Regions from separate parts of the Homo sapiens genome. Here region 1 is linked to region 2. The links are contacts of gene promoters, found by promoter capture Hi-C in human tissues and cell types (Jung and others, 2019). All regions are on one chromosome and are shown on one strand. The core of a region is centred on a gene start or on the middle of the fragment in contact, and the rest is flanking DNA. Distances in the headings are between cores, read along the strand shown. Region 1 overlaps LOC101929563 (a long non-coding RNA gene). Region 2 holds the start of ELAVL2 (ELAV like RNA binding protein 2).

Evidence for each region. Contacts are between HindIII fragments. The study calls those that stand out against the background at their distance.
Region 1: a contact is called between a fragment that was not itself captured here and the fragment with the promoter of ELAVL2 in region 2, in 2 of the 25 tissues and cell types used here (dorsolateral prefrontal cortex and thymus).

Annotation. Positions count from the first base shown.
Region 1 is chr9:23,620,539-23,623,920 of GRCh38, reverse strand. All of the region lies in intron 9 of LOC101929563 (a long non-coding RNA gene), which reads left to right. Among named protein-coding and RNA genes, the nearest start is that of ELAVL2, 200 kb to the left of the region's middle. The HindIII fragment of the contact is 5,206 bases long and covers 1-3,382 here.
Region 2 is chr9:23,824,585-23,827,848 of GRCh38, reverse strand. It overlaps ELAVL2 (ELAV like RNA binding protein 2), which reads left to right and starts at 1,609. Exons shown (of 7, transcript NM_004432.5): 1 at 1,609-2,043. LOC105375992 (a long non-coding RNA gene) reads right to left here and starts at 1,421. Exons shown (of 3, transcript XR_929519.3): 1 at 1,332-1,421. The HindIII fragment of the contact is 12,029 bases long and covers 1-3,264 here.

The DNA of each region.
Region 1 (3,382 bases), core at 537-3,036, 200 kb after region 2:
CTAAATTGATCTACAGTGCTGGAATATTTAAATGAATTTGATTCACCATATTTATAAATTTAATTCATTAGATTTCAGAGATTTATTTAATTACCCAGGAAGGTTTAAAGTCAGACAATTGAAGTACTTAAAGGAAATCAAATATATTAAATTTATAAATGAATTTAAAAATGTTTGAAGAGGTTTAGTTAACTATTTATAAATGGTGCTAAATATTCCTCTAAGTACCCTTAAAAGCAGTTGCTAAACTTTCCTAGATTATAAACAGAATTATATTTGTAAGCTGAAGGAAAAAGTAGGCTTTTAAATTTATTTATTTTAGACTTTTAAATTTATAACCTGAAAAATCAAATATTAATATTTAAAACCAAAGTGCCATCAGAGTAATCTTTTCTGAGCATAAAGGTCAGTCTCAAGGACTCCAGAAACTTCAAACACAACACACACTTTTTGTATTAGACTTAGGATTGTTCTTCATTTCCACAGAGAAGTATACATTCTCTTTTGTTCTAGAATCATGCAGTGCTCTGGCTAGCAGTAGTTTTCCTTTTTCCATGTTTGCTAGACACGTTTTTGCTAGGATTTCCTGGGAAAAATCAGTGCAAGTGTAATGTATGGGAAACAAAAAGAGTGGTGGGGATTGTGGCAATCTTAATACATACTCTTTAACTGATAAGAGCTATGTGGTTATCCCAATATATTAAAACTGCTGGGAGTTTTTACCCCAGAAGTCAGAGTTTCATGTTGGTCTCAATTTTTAAAACATCTAATGGGGGATCTCGGTGGGGGAAACACCAAAATGTACATCTGAGACTGAATCAGCGAACGAGTGACTTGTTGTGGAGCTCTGGTATGTTAGAAAGTGCTCTGAACAGGGATATAGCTAGGAAGTGCACTGTCCCCTTGTCAATGCCCACCTCAGATGTAGGGCATGGCAACCTTCGGAGTGACTCTAGAATCACCTCCTACCAAAGTGTTAGTGGATAATGTAGTTTGCACTGAAGGTTTTTAAGAATAGAGGGGAGAGGAAGTTTATTGTATGTGCATATGTGTGTCTCACATTAAGAAACAAGAAACTATGAAAAATCGTCTGTTACAGATTTCTTTTCTCCAGTCTTTTCTACATAGCTATTCTTCCTAGAGCAGAATGGAGAGTAGGGGTGGTGATTTTTTTTTTTTCTTCCTCAACTTTCACACAGTACCCAGGCTCCTAGGCATCTGTCCTCTTTCCTTGATTCTCTTAGGGCACTTTAAGTTCCACACCCCTTATTAAGCAGAGCAATCCAGCTTTGTCTTCCACCTAAGCATTCTGGGCACTGGGTGGTGGTAGTGGTTGTGTGGCTGCAGCTGCTGGGGGTATATGAGTAACTTTTTTTGGTTGGATTGAAGCCTGTAACGAATGTTAGTATCTACAAGCGACACTGAAAGCCCATGTTTTCTAGTTCGCTATAGTCCACTGGCGCTTGCTTCCTTTTTGACTTTTCTTCCTGCAGCAGCAGTTGCTCTTGCTGCCCTAGACCCCTGCCATTTCAGTGCACACTGGGCTTGACCTCTGGTGCAAGCACCAGCTTCTTTCTCCTTACGTGCTTTCCGTGGCTGCTGAAACCCACTCGGCTTTCTCCCTCAACCACCACCCACTCTTCCACCCTCAGGCAGGCAGCAGGTTGGAAAGTGCTGGACAATTAAGGCCTTTTTCCCACCCCCAGCATCCCATAATGGGGAGCTGGTATATGACTATACTTCCTCTCTCAGGCGGGTTAAGTTTTGAGGCACATTTTCCATGCTGCTTCCTAGAATTCCCCAGTGAGATTAAGCGCCACTTGCCCATTGTGGTAATTTATTGACAATGAACCTTTTATTAGCTCACTTCCTTTTTCCTGTCTCATGTTTTTGCAGGAGTTGCCCCAAATCACCTCCCACTTGCATTCTAATATCCACCTCTTGATCTACTTCTGAGAGAAGTGAAACTAAAATATTTTTCAAACCAAGTGTCATTTTAATGAAATTAATTAGGCCTAGAATTTAGTTAGCCCTTAGCAATCTTATAGGAAAGCATGTATTTCCTATATAACTCAGGCACAGCACTTGCCTTACTCACTTGAAACAAAAATGTGCTTGGACAGCAGGATGGCCTTAGTTATGGTTGCCCAAGTATTAGACAAGGGAATTCTCACCAGAAATTTTGATTGAATGATTAGAATTTTAATAAATCATACTGACCCCTTTTTTCTTACGAAATCACATACCAGTCATGCCATCCCAGCTTAAGGTAGAAAATGATGTTGGTGTGGCTGAAGAGAGAGTTTACGCTTTAGGTTCTTCCCCAGTTGTCTTCATACAGTTCAAAATGTGGCTGCACTAATGGTTTTCTGCTGAACCCTGTTGGGAGGCCTCCTATACTCTTGGGGCCTAATGGATGCATGCAGAGTAGTTCATTATTCCTCCATTAAAGGTTTTCTGTCTGCCTCTAAATCACCTTAGTTGGTGACTCAACTGCTCCCAGGAAGTTTGCTTCAGGAAAGACATTTAAAATTTCTAACCACTGACCAGGGAGTGGCTTACTCACCCAAAGGATGCAATCTATTCATGCTGACATAGGCTGTCTAATGCAAACATTATAAAGTATTCATAAGCCTCCCCTTTGCCTCAAAATAGAACCCATTTCTCCGCTTGGGGAAGATATTAGAGCCTTAAATGCCTCCGAAATGAATCTGCTCCCTTCTGGTTCTAATTGTCTCTCTCTTCCTTTGAGGGTGACTCTAGGATGCTCTGCTTTTCTTAGCCATCTGTCCTTTTGCATTGCTCTCGCCTCATCTCCCTGTCTCACTTTTCCCTTCAGCCTTGTTTACAGTTCTTTTTCTGGAGGGGTGGTTGTGGAGTTGACTTCCCAGGGAAAAAAAGATTAAATATGCATGAGAAAGATAGTGTGGGCTTATGGGATCTGGAAGAAGGCACACTGAATATATAGTAAATGAAAAAATTTAAACATGTTAATTTTAATACTTTAACAAGCATTGGCATGTCTGTAGCCCCTTTCAAGATGTAAGTCTTCTTAAAGCTGGATAGCCTGTGTTACAGCTATTTTAGTCATGCATGATTTTTCCTCTCTGTCATTAAATTAGAATATGATTACCTCCCACAGACAAAATCACACCTTTGGGTACTAAGTAATATAATTTATTTCATAAATAGGATCAAAACACCTTTATTAGATGCTAGCGACTAGGGGAAAAACATCATTTTATTAACATTTTAGTATTGACTCTCTTTTATTACATTTAATCAGAAAGGGATTTTGACAGCAACCCAGAGATGTACTCTAAACTTTTATCTGTGCTTCAGCTACCTTGCTTGAAAAATGCTTGTTTTTGTTTTTCTTTTA
Region 2 (3,264 bases), core at 360-2,859:
GGCTACACGGGAGATAAACAGGTCTGTTTTTCACCATTAATCATTTATCAACACTCAAGGACACTCTCAAAGAACACTGATTTACTGTATTCCTCACTTCAAAGTCATTTTGCTTTGGGATCTTCTGTCCCATTCCCCTCCATGACACCCTACCCTTTTGCAATCTCTAACTCTTACCTGTGTCTTCTTTTTCCGGCATTCTCAAAGATAGCGACTAGTTGTAAATATGTAAAGGAATCCCTTTCAAAAAGGCATGTGCCTCTGGTTAAGACACATTACATGTGTAATGTAATGTGTACATTACATTTACACATTCTGGTAAGAATGGTAAAAACTGTCTAGGAAGTTGGTGCTATCTTTCAAGATTGAAAAGAGAAATGCTGGCTGGAAAAGAACGTAGGTCAAATGAATATTGTGTCTACTTATACATCCAGACGATCCTGAGGACCTCACTTTCACTTAGAGGAAGAAACAATTATCATGCATAAAACTGTATTTTGGTCTCCTGAATGCTGTTAAAATATGGGGTTGTAATAAAGTAGTCTTCCTCTATGAAGCAGAAGCATTGATAGCACTTGGTCTTCTGGTTAAACTTCTTAAATCCTCACAGAAAGAGCCCTGATAAAGGTTCAACTATCTTTGCTGTCAGCAATACATGTGTGGTCCAAGGACTGTACCTGTCTGCAAATGCAGAGGAGTGGCTTGTTCCAGTTTTATATACAGCTGCTCTTTTTGAGAATCATTAGACACCTCGAAGTGAAGGACCTTAGCTCTACTCAATACCTCTTTTTCTGGATAGGATATTTATCCTACACTTTTCTATTCTAACATGAAGTGAAAGCCAATTCAAACCGTGCAGCTTTATTTGAGAGCATTTCTGACTTCATCTTTATCTTAAAAGGATGCTTTAAAAAGGGGTTCATGGGGACACATAAATCTGAAATATGCGTATATTAAAATAAAGACATACAATTACCTAACATCTAATACAAAATACAGTACTGAACACAAATCGAAAAAAGGCATGCGGGCAAATAATGGATGTACATTCATCCCTTTCACTCAGATCAAAGAGAGGGAGCTCTCAATGACTCATACATACCGGACAGAGTTAAATGTTATAAAGAAATATGCCACAGATGCAGCAGTGATGGCAAAGGAAATGAATCTTTCTGAAGCAGAAAGATTTAAGAGGAAAGGAGATCGTGCCATATCGCAAACTCTGATAGTACAGTTCCAACCCTCCCACGTTGCTCTCTCCACATTTCTTTTTGCTTCTTGCATTTCCCTTCGCCGCCAGTGTTAAGAGTGTACCTCCCCGCACAACTTACCTTGAAACGGGACTCCATTGAGCTCTCGAGAGTGACACAAGCCCATAGCCAATCGTCTCACGCGGCCCCGCCTGGGCGGCCTCAATGGAAGCGTGTGGACCAATCAGGATCCTGGGGCGATGAGCAAGTTACGTTGTGGCGCGATTCGGCGTATACTTCCGCGCGTGCTGCCCGGGATAGGAGCCTGGCAGAGCAGCTGCACACACGGCAGTGCGGAGGCAGAGAAGGGGTTGGTGATACGGTGCTATAAATCTGTGGTCCAGTCCACCTCCCTTTTAAGACGTCCTCCCCCCTATTTCTGTTCTTAGTTAGAGATGCAGCAGCTTACTCCTGTAGCGACCTACTAAAAAGCAACAAGGAGAAAGACATCGTCTTTTTGAAAAAACGTTCTTTCGTCTCTTTTCTTTGTTCCTTGGTTTGTTTTTCTTGCCCCTTTTTGTTTAGTTGAACGGCAATAGGAGGGTAGTCTCTCCGTCTTTTTAAACTCTTTTTTAAGTTTCCCCTCCCCTTTCATATTTTTTTTCGCCATTTCTTTTAGCATTGGACTTTGGGGTCGAAAGCGTTTCTTTTTATTTGCTTCTTTTAAGCCGAGCACAGTTTAGGTTTCGTGCTGTCTTAAGAGAACTATCCAGCAGCTTCTTGCTCATCCTTATTGGGAGAACTGCACCGTTACTTTAAAAACACACATACACAAAAACCTTAAGGGAGAAAGGTAAGTTTCGGTTTGGTTTCTTTAATCATTAGTTGCAGCGATGCGCTGGCAAACCCAGAAAACCTGTAAGTGAGCGGAATACAGAATATGAAGTTAATTGCACATGTTTGTCTCATTTCAAAGCTACTGTTCTGCTTTTTTAATTTTAAAGAGCTAGACTAAAAGACGGTGGACGCATGCTTAGCGTACTGAATATTCGTAAATGTCCATGGCAGAAACTTAAGTGGTAAATGTGGCCAGGGGGGAGTAGGGGTACAATGGGAGGTTAGATGTGGAGTGAGCTTCAAGATTGAGATCGGAAGTTCATTTCGTGGGGAGAGAGTGATAACTTGGGTGTTGGGGATGCATGCCTCTACTTTGGCTCAGCAACGGAAGGACGGGAGAGGCTTTACAATCATTAAGGGGAATCAGAAGCCTGGACTGGCAGATTAGACCAGCGAAAACCACAGGCTTAATTGCATTAACCAGATAGCATGTGCTGGGGAGATGGGATTGCCAGATGGAATTTAGATGCTGCACCAGGCAGCGAGTTGTAGTTGACTGAAAAAAGTACATGCCGCCTGAGGGCTGGGGCTGGGGCTGGGCTGAGGCTAGGGTTGTTAGAAGCTGTCAGAACTCATCATTGTATGCGGGCTCTGATTCACGGACTCCAATTATCATAATTCAGTTTTAAAAGAAGATAGCCAATTTGGGGCTGAATTCTTAAGCCTGTACCGGATATGAGATTCCCTTTGTTCAGAAAAGCGTAAATAAGATCCTTGGAGCTGTGTCTATGAAGTGCCGGCTGCTTGGGAGCCTCGCTGTGCTGGGCGCTGGGAAGTGGATTCCAAGCCCTGTCCTTGGTCCTACGCGGCTGACTTCGCCTTCGGGGAGAGGGGGAACCCCTCTGCAGCCGCGAGGCTTCGCAGCCACCCCAGGAGCCAACTCGGCCACGTAGCCCTCACCCCCTCCTTACCGCCCCCACTTCCTCGAATAGCTATTGTTAAATTGACGCCAGGAGAAAGATGGTTGGGGATGACAAGCTGGGCAGATAGGCACACGCTTCATTTTAACTTTTGTGATTTCTCAGGGTTTAGGAGAAATCATTTGGCTTTCTACTGCCAAAGAGAGGATCCAGGGTAGATGTGGGAAAGGGGGAGGATGTTCGTGGGCCGGGGAGGGCGGAAGGGGTGGTGGTGGTGGAACAAGCTGCTGGCTTTCCTAAGAGAAGTTTAAATTATT